Regions from separate parts of the Homo sapiens genome. Here regions 1 and 2 are each linked to region 3. Evidence: promoter capture Hi-C in human tissues and cell types (Jung and others, 2019). All regions are on one chromosome and are shown on one strand. The core of a region is centred on a gene start or on the middle of the fragment in contact, and the rest is flanking DNA. Distances in the headings are between cores, read along the strand shown.

Region 1 (4,128 bases), core at 681-3,180, 350 kb after region 3:
TACTTACGACAGACAGAGGTTTTCTTTCGCCTGCAACAAAGGATCCCACTCTCCACGGACATATCTTGCTTCCCTCTGCTAAGGGCAATCATTCCACCTGTCCAGCCTGGCTATGAACTCTACACCTGGCATAAGACCCCCAGCCAGCATCTCTGCCAGGTTTACCCTTGCAAGGGATGACAGGAAGCCTGAGCCACTTTTCAGCAGTGTGGCACCCATTGACTGTGAGAGGTGCTGAATGCAAGCTTCAGGTATTAGCAAGGGCACTGTCCCATTGACTGTGAGAGGTGCTGAATGCAAGCTTCAGGTATTAGCAAGGGCACTGTCAAAGAGGCAATCCACATTAGACTGTGCACTGGGCCTGTTTTCACGGTTACATCTGTGAGCAGAGCTTAGACACTTCCCATCATGCCCCATCTGCTACTTTGTACCACACATTAGGAGAACAACCCACCCCTCAGTGAGGCCAGGCCCGTGACATCTGCACTGAGCTGACCCAGTCTAACCTCCAACAAGCCACACCATCCCCATCCTCAAAACCCTGACCCCGGAACTTTACCATTGGAAGTTCTATCCAGTGGGTTTTAGGAGAATTTTCCCAACTTGTACAAATACATCCCAATCATGGTCCTCATCTAGAGTATACATCTCTGCGGTTTTTTCTGCCTAGCCTCCCTATTTTCTTGGGGCTCATCCTTCCTCTATGGGATCCTGACTGGGTTGTCAGTCATGGTGACCCTTGCAGGCCATGGAGACCTGCACTTCCCCAGATGACATGAAAATTTGGGGAGAGGGGGCCGGGTGCGGTGGCTCATGTCTGTAATCCCAGCACTTTGGGAGGCCAAGACGGGTGGATCACGAGGTCAGGAGATTGAGACTATTCTGGCTAACACGGTGAAACCCCGTCTCTACTAAAAAAAAAAACATAAAAATTAGTTGGGCGTGGTGGCGGGCGCCTGTAGTCCCAGCTACTTGGGAGGCTGAGGCAGGAGAATGGCGTGAACCCAGGAGGCGGAGCTTGCAGTGAGCTGAGATCGCACCACTGCACTCCAGCCTGGGCGACAGAGCGAGACTTCGTCTCAAAAAACAAAAAGAAAGAAAGAAAAAGAAAAAAGAAAAGAAAATGTGGGGAGATGGAAGTCCCTTGTGAATCTATGGCTAACAAGGCTGCCTTTTCATACACATGAAGAAAGACTCTGAAGAATGAAGGGAGTAAAGCTAAGACAGGGAAAGAAAGAGAAAGTCCCTGTGATGGCGCTGGAGCTGCTGGATCCAGCCGTACTGAAGCTGAAGAGACACTTGTAGGTTTCTCAGACCTTGCCTTTTTTTTTTTTTTTTTTTTTTTGCATAAACTGCCCTGACTTGGGTTTCTGCCACTTGCAACCAAGAGTCCGACCTACCCTCCCATCAGTATCACTGACCTTTGCCTCAGAGGCCAGAAGGCCAAGCTTCCAAGGACCAGAAGAAACTGGGGGCTCTAGGAGTCACATGTTTACATTGCAGAGAAGGAAATGAAGAACTCGGAGAAGGCAGGCAGAAGCAAAGCCAGGCAGAGATCCTCAGATTCAGCTCCCAATTCTCCGTAAGAAACGAGACTCCCTTCCAAGCGCGGTAGCTGCTCTTCTGTGTCCTGCGGGTCTTCCCTGCAGCCCCTGCGAACCTCGCCCCTTCCTCTACTCCCCTGGCCCGGAAAGTGCCCACTCACCTGCTGCATCAGCCTTTCTGCCACTCTGGGGTCAGTGAGGTCTTCCGGGGAAGCCACACTCAGCCGCAGGAGGAGGAAACCTCCATTTTCACCTGCAAATGGAGAACAGTAAGATGAAAATCAGGGCTGGGCGCAGTGGCTCACACCTGTCATCCCAGCACTTTGGGAGGCAGAGGCAGGTGGATCACCTGAGATCGGGAGTTTGAGACCAGCCTGACCAACATGGAGAAATCCCGTCTTTACTAAAAACACAAAATGAGCCGGGCATGGTGGTGCGTGCCTGTAATCCCAGCTACTCAGGAGGCTGAGGCAGGAGAATCGCCTGAACCTGGGAGGCGGAGGTTGTGGTGATCTGAGATCGCAGCACTACACTCCAACCTGGGCAACAAGAGCGAAACTGTCTCAAAAAAAAAAAAAAAAAAAAAGAGGAGGATGAAATAGTCACATATATTTGCTTCCGTATGTACATTTCATGTGCAGAAAATTACACACAAGAGACAATCTCACGGGTTACATGTGTGGAGAGAACTGGGTGGGGGCACAGCCAGGGGAGAAAGGCATTTTATGGTGAACCTTTTCGTACCTTTCCATTTCAAATCATATGAATGTCTTATCTAATCAACAAATAATAAAGTATTTTTCTTTCCAGGGAAAAGAAGGAGCGATCAGACTGTCACTGTGTCTCTGTAGAAAGGAAAGACATGAGACTCCATTTTGAAAAAGACCTGTACTTTAAACAAGCTTTGCTGAGATGTTGTTAATTTGTAACTTTGCCCCAACCTTGAGCTCATAAAAACATGTGTTGTATAAAATCAAGGTTTAAGGGATCTAGGGCTGTGCAGGACGTGCCTTGTTAACAAAATGTTTACAAGCAGTATACTTGGTAGAAGTCATCGCCATTCTCTAGTCTCAATAAACCAGGGGCACAATGCACTGTGGAAAGCCGCAGGGACCTCTGCCCTTGAAAGCAGGTTATTGTCCAAGCTTTCTCCCCATGTATAGTCTGAAATATGGCCTTGTGGGATGACAAAGACCTGACCGTCCCCCAGGCTGACACCCGTAAAGGGTCTGTGCTGAGGTGGATTAGTAAAAGAGGATCTCCTCTTGCAGTTGAGATAGAGGAAGGCCACTGTCTCCTGCCTGCCCCTGGGAACTGAATGTCTCAGTATAAAACCCGATTGTACATTTGTTCAATTCTGAGACAGGAGAAAAACCACCCTGTGGCGGGAGGTGAGACATGTTTGCAGCAATGCTGCTTTATTATTCTTTACTCTGCTGAGATGTTTGGGTGGAGAGAAACATAAATCTGGCCTACGTGCACATCCAGGCATAGTATCTTCCCTTGAACTTAATTATGACACAGATTCTTTTGCTCACATGTTTCTTGCTGACCTTCTCCTTATTATCACCCTGCTCTCCTACTACATTCCTTTTTGCTAAAATAATGAAAATAATAATCAATAAAAACTGAGAAAACTCAGAGACTGGTGCCGGTGCAGGTCCTTGGTATGCTGAGCGACGGTCCCCTGGGCCCACTGTTGTTTCTCTATACTTTGTCTCTGTGCCTTATTTCTTTTCTCAGTCTCTCATCCCACCCGACTAGAAATACCCACAGGTGTGGAGGGGCAGGCCACCCCTTCACTTTCCAGAGCAGTTTAGCTACCATCTTTAACCCTGTCAGATGGGGTCGTGTTACCCACCTCCTAAGGCTGTTTTGAAGGTTAAATAGAGGAGATAACATATGCAAAGCTGGTGGCACACTGCCTGGCATCATAACATATGCAAAGCTGGTGGCACACTGCCTGGCATCAGATAACATATGCAAAGCCGGTGGTACACTGCCTGGCATCAGATAACATATGCAAAGCTGGTGGTACACTGCCTGGCATCAGATAACATATGCAAAGCCGGTGGCACACTGCCTGGCATCAGATAACATATACAAAGCCGGTGGCACACTGCCTGGCATCAGATAACATATGCAAAGCTGGTGGCACACTGCCTGGCACCGGAGAGAACGTTCTGCTGGGGCCAGTGCTTACTGGGTGTGAAACATGTTTATATCACCCCTGCCTATAACATGAAAGATATTCAATAATATCTTTATGTATTGAGTGGTTGTGATTAATATTTGTATTCCCACCTCCCCCAGAAAGGTGGTAACAAGCTGCGGATACACAGAGATGAGGCCCAAGGGCAGAGTGACAGGAAGTGGAGGTGGAGGCTACAGGCTGACCAGAAGCTGGACTGACCAAGCAGCCTCTGACAATGAACTTCTCCCCTGAGAAGTCCCTGTTGCCTCAGAGATGTAGCTTTAAACTCCCAAGCCTTCGCTGTATTTGCTTATTTTATCTTACCTTTTTTTTTTGAGACGGAGTTTCACTCCGTCTCAGCTCACTGTAACCTCCACCTCCCGGGTTCAA
Region 2 (3,928 bases), core at 1-2,500, 460 kb before region 3:
GTCCAGAGTGCAGCCTCTGCCCGGCCGCCACCCCGTCTGGGAAGTGAGGAGCGTCTCTGCCTGGCCGCCCATCGTCTGGGATGTGAGGAGCCCCTCTGCCTGGCTGCCCAGTCTGGAAAGTGAGGAGCGTCTCTTCCCGGCCGCCATCCCATCTAGGAAGTGAGGAGCGTCTCTGCCCGGCCGCCCATCGTCTGAGATGTGGGGAGCGCCTCCGCCCCGCCGCCCCGTCTGGGATGTGAGGAGCGCCTCTTCCCGGCCGCGACGCCGTCTGGGAGGTGAGGAGCGTCTCTGCCCAGCCGCCCCATCTGAGAAGGGAGGAGACCCTCCGCCCGGCAGCCACCCCGTCTGGGAAGTGAGGAGCGTCTCCGCCCGGCAGCTGCCCCGTCCGGGAGGGAGGTGGGGGTCAGCCCCCTGCCCGGCCAGCCGCCCCGTCCGGGACGTGAGGGGCGCCTCTGCCCGGCCGCCCCTACTGGGAAGTGAGGAGCCCCTCTGCCCGGCCACCACCCCGTCTGGGAGGTGTACCCAACAGCTCATTGAGAACGGGCCATGATGACAATGGCGGTTTTGTGGAATAGAAAGCGGGGAAAGGTGGGGAAAAGATTGAGAAATTGGATGGTTGCCGTGTCTGTGTGGAAAGAAGTAGACATGGGAGACTTTTCATTTTGTTCTTTACTAAGAAAAATTCTTCTGCCTTGGGATCCTGTTGATCTGTGACCTTACCCCCAACCCTGTGCTCTCTGAAACATGTGCTGTATCCACTCAGGGTTAAATAGATTAAGGGCGGTGCAAGATGTGCTTTGTTAAACAGATGCTTGAAGGCAGCATGCTCGTTGAGAGTCATCACCACTCCCTAATCTCAAGTACCCAGGGACACAAACACTGCGGAAGGCCGCAGGGTCCTCTGCCTAGGAAAATCAGAGACCTTTGTTCACTTGTTTATCTGCTGACCTTCCCTCCACTATTGTCCCATGACCCTGCCAAATCCCCCTCTGTGAGAAACACCCAAGAATGATCAATAAAAATAAAAATTAAAAAAAAAAAAATGGGCAAAAGATTTGGATACCTCTAGCATTGGGAGATATACCTAATGCTAGATGACGAGTTAGTGGGTGCAGTGCACCAGCATGGCACATGTATACATATGTAACTAACCTGCACAATGTGCACATGTACCCTAAAACTTTAAGTATAATTAAAAAAAAAAAAGATTTGGACACCTCACCAATATGGATATATAAATGGCCAATAAGTACATGAAAAGGTGCATGACATGAATAGTCATTAGGTAAATGCAAATTAAAACTACAATGTAACACCTGTATACACCCACTAGAATGGCTACACTTATAAAGACTGACAATGTTGACAGGAATGCGGAGCAACGGGAACTCTCACACATCGTTAGTAGGAATGCAAAATGGTACAGCCGCTTTGGAAAGCAGTTGGGCCACTTTTAAAGCTAAACATATGCTTATAATATGACCTAGCAATTCTATTTTTAGGTATTTACTCAAGAAAAATAAAATACTATCACATTTGGGATTTTTAAGAAAAGAAAAAGAAATAATAAAAAAATTTTAAAGGGAAATGAAAAAATACGTTCACACAAAATTCTTGACCCAAATGTTTATAGCTACTTTGTTCATAATAGCCAAATTGGAAATAACACAAATGTCCCTCAACTGTTCAACCACTCACAGTGTGTCCGTGCAATGGAATACTATTGAGCAATAAAAGGAACAGATTGTGGACACAGGCAAGAACATGGACAAATCTCAAAAGCATTGTGGTATGTGAAAGAAGCAAGTATATGCCTAGCAGACTAAATACTAATGATTCCATTTATATCCAAATACTATATGATTCTATTTATATGACATTCTGGAAAAGGCAAAACAGAAAGCAGCTCAGAGGTTTCCAGGGGTCAGAGGCAGGGTATAGGATTGGCTGCAAAGAAGTACAAGGGAAGTTTTCAGGGTGATGGGGGATATTCTGTGGTCTTTATCATGATTGTGGCAGTCATTATATGACTGTAAACATTTGTCAGAGCTCAGTAAGCCATACTTTTTAAATTATTGAATTTTATTGTATGTAAGTTATATCTCAAAACTAATTTATTTTTATTTTTTAAAATTAGAGATGGGGTCTTGCTATGTTGCCCAGGCTGGTCTTGAACTCCTGGCCTCAAACAATCCTCTGGGCTCAGCCTCCCAAAGTGCTAGGATTATAAGTGTGAGCCACTGAATCGGGGCTGAAAACTTAAGTTTTTTAAAGGTTGCTTGCTACAAAGTGCAGTTTCAAGACAAGTGTCTTACTGCTTTTTCTGGACCTATTACTACCCCAAATCTCTTGTACTAGAGCTTCAAGCTTTCACCACCATTAATGTTTATATTGTCTTGATTTACTTTAATTCTACTAATTTTTCACTTAAAATAAGGATTTTTTTTTTTTTTTGGAAACAGAATCTCGCTCTGTCACCCAGTGCAGTGGTGCTATCTCGGCTCACTGCAACCTCCATCTCCCAGGTTCAAGCCATTCTCCTGCCTCAGCTTCCCAAGTAGCTGGGATTACAGGTGCGCACCACCAGCCTGGCTAATTTTTGTTGTGTGTGTGGTTTTTTTTTTTTTTTTTTTTTGAGACAGAGTCTCACTCTGTCACCCAGGCTGGAGTGCAGTGGTGCGATCTCAGTTTACTGCAAGCTCTGCCTCCCGGGTTCACGCCATTCTTCTGCCTCAGCCTCCCGAGTAGCTGGGACTACAGGCGCCCGCCAGCATGCCCAGCTAATTTTTGAATCTTTAGTAGAGACGGGGTTTCACCGTGTTAGCCAGGATGGTCTTGATCTCCTGACCTCATGATCCGCCCGCCTTGGCCTCCCAAAGTGCTGGGATTACAGGCATCAGCCACCGCACCCGGCCTTTTTCTTTTTTCTTTTTTTTCGAGATGGAGTTTCACTTTTGTTGCCCAGGCTGGAGTGCAATGGTGCGATCTCAGCTCACTGTAACCTCCACCTCCCAGGTTCAAGCGATTCTCCTGCCTCAGCCTTCCAAGTAGCTGGGATTACAGGCGCGCACCACCATGCCTGGCTAATTTTTTGTATTTTTAGTAGAGATGGGGTTTCAGCACGTTGGCCAGGCTGGTCTCGAACTCCTGACCTCAAGTGATCCACCCACCTCGGTCTCCCAAAGGGCTGGGATTACAGGTGTGAGCCACCAAATTTTCATATTTTTATTAGAGACGGTCTCATCATGTTGACCATGCTGATCTCGAACTCCTGACCTCAAATGATCCACCCGCCTCGGTCTCCAAAAGTGCTGGGATTATAGATGTGAGCCGCCATGCCCGGCCTAAAATAAGGATTTTTAAAATTAGGCTTCACAACTTAAATTAATACTTTTTCCATCTTTTCTTTGTCTCGTTTGAAGTTATGATGTTAGAAATAGTAATACAGGCCGGGTGTGGTTGCTCACGCCTGTAATCCCAGCACTTTTGGAGGCCTAGGTGGGTGGATCACCTGAGGTCAGGAGTTTGAGACCAGCCTGGCCAACATGATGAAACCCTGTCTCTACTAAAAATACAAAAATTAGCCAGGCGTGGTGGTGCACACCTGTAATCCCAGCTACTCAGGAGGCTGAGGCAGGAGAATTGCTTGAACCTGGGAGGCGAAGGTTGCAATGAGCTGAGACCACGCCATTGTACTCCAGCCTGGGTGACAAGAGTGAAACTCCGTCTCAAAAAAAAAGAAATAATAATACAAGCTGGGCATGGTGGCACATGCCTGTAGTCCCAGCTACTCAGGAGGCTGAGGCTGGAGGATGACTTAAGCCCAGGAGTTTGAGACTAGCCAGAGTTTGAACTGGGCATGTGTTCAACAGAAACACCTTGACTGGTTTCTCAGCAGACACAGTCCCCCCAGAGTTAACAGTCACTC
Region 3 (3,856 bases), core at 1,111-3,610:
TAAACATATTTTTCTTTCTTTTCTTTTCTTTCTTTCTTTCTTTTTTTTTTTTTTTTTTGAGACAGAGTCTTGCTCTGCTGCCCAGGCTGAAGGGCAGTGGTGTGATCTCAGCTCACTGCAGCCACCCCCCTCCCGGGTTCAAACGATTCTCCTGCCTCAGCCTCTGGAGTAGCTGGGACTACAGGTGTGCGCCACCACGCCAGACTAAATTTTGTATTTTTAGTTGTGATGGGGTTTTATCATGCTGGCCAGGCTGGTCTTGAACTCCTGACCTCAGAAGATCCACCTGCCTCAGTCTCCCAAAGTGTTGGGATTACAGGGATTAGCCATCGCATCTGGCCACCTAAACCTATGTCCTCCATGAGGCTATAAGATTTTCACCTGCAAATACCAGCATTGTTTGTTTCTTTTTAAAAGATACTTCAGTCAAGGAAAGGCAGAAAGCCAGGCATGTTAGCTCATGCCTATAATCCCAGCACTTTGGGAGACCGGAGGCAGGAGGATTGTTTGAGCCCAGGAGTTCAAGACTAGTCTGGGCTACATAGCAAACCCTGCGTCAAATTAAAAATAAAAAATAAATAGGCTGGGCATGGTGGCTCATGCCTGTTATCCCAACATTTTAGGAGGCCAAGGTGGGCAGATCACCTGAGGTCAGGAATTCGAGACAAGCCTGGCCAACATGATAAAATCCCGTCACTCCTCAAAATACAAAAATTAGCCTGGCATGGTGGCACACACCTGTAGTCCCAGCTACTTGGGAGGCTGAGGCAGGAGAATCGCTTGAATCCGGAGGCAGAGGTTGCAGTGAGCCCGAGATCATGCCACTGTACTCCAGCCAGGGTGACAGAGCAAGACACTGTCTTAAAAGTAAAAATAATAAAAATAAATAAAATTAATAATTAAAGAAATAAAGAAGGAACACCACAGGGGAGCAGGCCTGGTGTCTGAATGTTAAGGTAGGCCCTCTGTGGATGTGCATCCTTAACCTTTTCCTGATTAGATCATTAAAGGTGCAGCAATGCTCCTGCTCATATGACTTTTTTTTTTTTTTGAGATGGAATCTTGCTCTGTCGCCCAGGTTGGAGTGCAATGGCGCGATCTTGGCTCACTGCAACCTCCGCCTCTTGGGTTCAAGCGATTCTTCTGCCTCAGCCTCCTGAGTAGCTGGGATTACAGGCGCGTGCCACTATGCCTGGCTAATTTTTTTTGAAATTTTTTTAGTAGAGATGGGGTTTCACCATATTGGTCAGGCTGGTCTCGAACTCCAGACCTCGTGATCCGCTCACCTCGGCCTCCCAAAGTGTTAGGATTGCAGGCGTGAGCCACCGCGCCTGGCAACTCATATGACTTTTAAACACTTCTCTTTGGGGAGAGAGATTTTAGAGAATGGGAGTAAAGAGAAAGGCGGTGAGAATCCCAAGTACTTTCTCTATCTTAGAGCAGAAGAAATAAAGGGAAGAGTAAAAGCCCAAGGCCCAGAAACGGATTTGCTTCTTAAAGGGCTGTTCTGTGTCCCTACGGGCCTGAAGGTCAGTTTATGTGCAATGCTTTTTAAGGTATGGGTTGCTTTCTTGCATTGTAGCTACTACCTCCCTGGCCTGCTGGTTACTGACCAGAGGGAGGGAGAGGGTGTGATTGTTTGGAAAGAGTTTAAACAGTGACAAGAATTGAATTTTATTTATTTGTTATTCATTGCACAATCCAATAACAGCGATGGCAATGAAAACGAAAGTTAATCTACAATCCTATCACCCTATTAAGTCACTTGTTTCTATTTTCCCTTTTATTCCCTCATGCATTAAACATTACGCAAAGCACTCCGCTAGTCTTGGTTAAAGTGCAGCTTGTATACATTCTGAATAAAAATTTGCATTTTGCTTTTCTTTTCCTTTTTGTATTTCTGAGGCTGCAAAATACATCTTCACAAGAGTGGCTTTAATAGTTACCTAACATTCCATCCTGCACGTACATTTCAAGGCACTGCCGCAGTGCAATATCCAACATTTAAGCGTCAACGCCAACAGATTGGACCTAGCACTGCAGGGACTGGAGGTTGGTCAAGGTCAGGCGGAGGCTGCCAGGCTACCAGGGTGGAGGAAGGCGCCGAGGCAGAGGCCAGTGCGCCCATCGCGCGGCTCCTCGGGGCACCTGCTGCCTTGGCGCCTTTTCCCTTGGCCTTCGCCTCGCCCGCAGCGCCCTCCGCATAGGGCCCCGCCCGCTGCGCGCGCATCCCCGCCCCCCGGGCGATCTGTCAGAGCACCTCGCGAGCGTACGTGCCTCAGGAAGTGACGCACAGCCCCCCTGGGGGCCGGGGGCGGGGCCAGGCTATAAACCGCCGGTTAGGGGCCGCCATCCCCTCAGAGCGTCGGGATATCGGGTGGCGGCTCGGGACGGAGGACGCGCTAGTGTGAGTGCGGGCTTCTAGAACTACACCGACCCTCGTGTCCTCCCTTCATCCTGCGGGGCTGGCTGGAGCGGCCGCTCCGGTGCTGTCCAGCAGCCATAGGGAGCCGCACGGGGAGCGGGAAAGCGGTCGCGGCCCCAGGCGGGGCGGCCGGGATGGAGCGGGGCCGCGAGCCTGTGGGGAAGGGGCTGTGGCGGCGCCTCGAGCGGCTGCAGGTACACGGGGTCGGCGGCTGTGCGCAGAGGCGTCCCTGCGCCTCTCGTCCCTTCGCCTCTCGTCCCTTCCCTTCTCTCTGCCTTCTTGCCCGCCTCCTCGGTCACAGAGCGACGAATGACGAGACCAGGTGTACCCCCACTGTCGCTCTCAGCCCCGGGGACTTCGGGTCCTCGCCCTTGAAGGCCGCAGGCCCTAGTGCGCCGGCTCCGGGCTGCGGGTCCGGGAGCGCGGGCGCAGCCAAGGTGCAGCTGCGCGGCGTGCGGCGCCGGGGGAACACGTGGCTGCTCCAGGAAGTCGCCCCAGGGAACGGCTGGGATTCGTGGGTGACCTTGGGCTCCTAAACCTTCGGTTCCCCGGGCTCCGGGCGGGCCCCGTTCTCACTGCGGAAAGGGACAAAGCTGTCCCCGATTCGGTTACTAGCGTGTTACAGGCATTAATTAGATACGGGTTTCTGTAAACTTACCCTTCGGCTCTGGTACAACCTGATCTTGCCATGCTCTGCCTGTTCGCCTTGTGTGTGGATTCTGTTTTCTCAAGGCAGAATCCGACTGAACGCCGCAGGTGTTCACATTAAGAATATTGCTAGCAGTTCTCACTACAAGACGGGAGCCATAGGAGTGACTTATTTGTGAAAGATACTTGGAGATTAGCGGTGTGGTCAGAGGGCTGTGCTGGATTGATGGGCGCCGGAGAGGCCGATTGTGTCACATTCTGCTGGACAGTTCTTTTAAGGTTGGGAGGGTGGGTAAGAAAATACATTCTGATTCGGCTCTTTTCGGATAACGCTTTCCCTCTGCTTACTGCTTGTAGAGACCTCACTTACCCGGGGGACTGGATTCTGCAGCTTTTTCCATTTTCTTCCCCGTTGATAAGAGGATTAAAGTAGGAAATTGTATTTGGCTACCCCATGCTTATATGCTAAGCTTACTGTGAAAATTAAGGTTAGGCTGTCTAGAGTACTTGTGGACCCTGCTGGTTCCCCCCGCCCCCCGGCCCTGAATTTTGGGTTACAATATGCTTCTCAAGAAAACTCAGAGTTAAGATAATTTTTGTCATCGATTTTGCAAGGTTATATATAGCATAGCATCCTTCAATTTCCTTTGGATGTTCTTATCAAGTAATGGTGGCTGTAAACCTAGCCTGTGTTGAAGATTGTTAGATAGACAGCAGTTTGGCTAACTCCGCCCTAAGGCGAGGCAGTTACTTGCCTCTGATAATGTATTTAAATGTCATGGA

What was found. The method cuts DNA at HindIII sites, captures the fragments that hold promoters and counts their contacts. A contact is called where the count stands out against the background at its distance.
Region 1: a fragment that was not itself captured here is called in contact with the fragment with the promoter of TFRC in region 3 in 1 of the 25 tissues and cell types used here (mesenchymal stem cells).
Region 2: a contact is called between a fragment that was not itself captured here and the fragment with the promoter of TFRC in region 3, in 1 of the 25 tissues and cell types used here (IMR-90 fibroblasts).

The regions. Positions count from the first base shown.
Region 1 is chr3:195,727,317-195,731,444 of GRCh38, reverse strand. MUC20 (mucin 20, cell surface associated) reads right to left here. Exons shown (of 4, transcript NM_001282506.2): 3 at 1,706-1,797. Among named protein-coding and RNA genes, the nearest start is that of MUC20, 8.4 kb to the right of the region's middle. The HindIII fragment of the contact is 3,313 bases long and covers 274-3,586 here.
Region 2 is chr3:196,539,691-196,543,618 of GRCh38, reverse strand. No RefSeq gene overlaps it. Among named protein-coding and RNA genes, the nearest start is that of SMCO1, 26 kb to the right of the region's middle. The HindIII fragment of the contact is 9,111 bases long and covers 1-3,928 here.
Region 3 is chr3:196,080,594-196,084,449 of GRCh38, reverse strand. TFRC (transferrin receptor) reads left to right here and starts at 2,360. Exons shown (of 19, transcript NM_001128148.3): 1 at 2,360-2,407. RefSeq lists silencers at 2,038-2,377, 2,428-2,727 and an enhancer at 3,609-3,856. The HindIII fragment of the contact is 11,516 bases long and covers 1-3,856 here.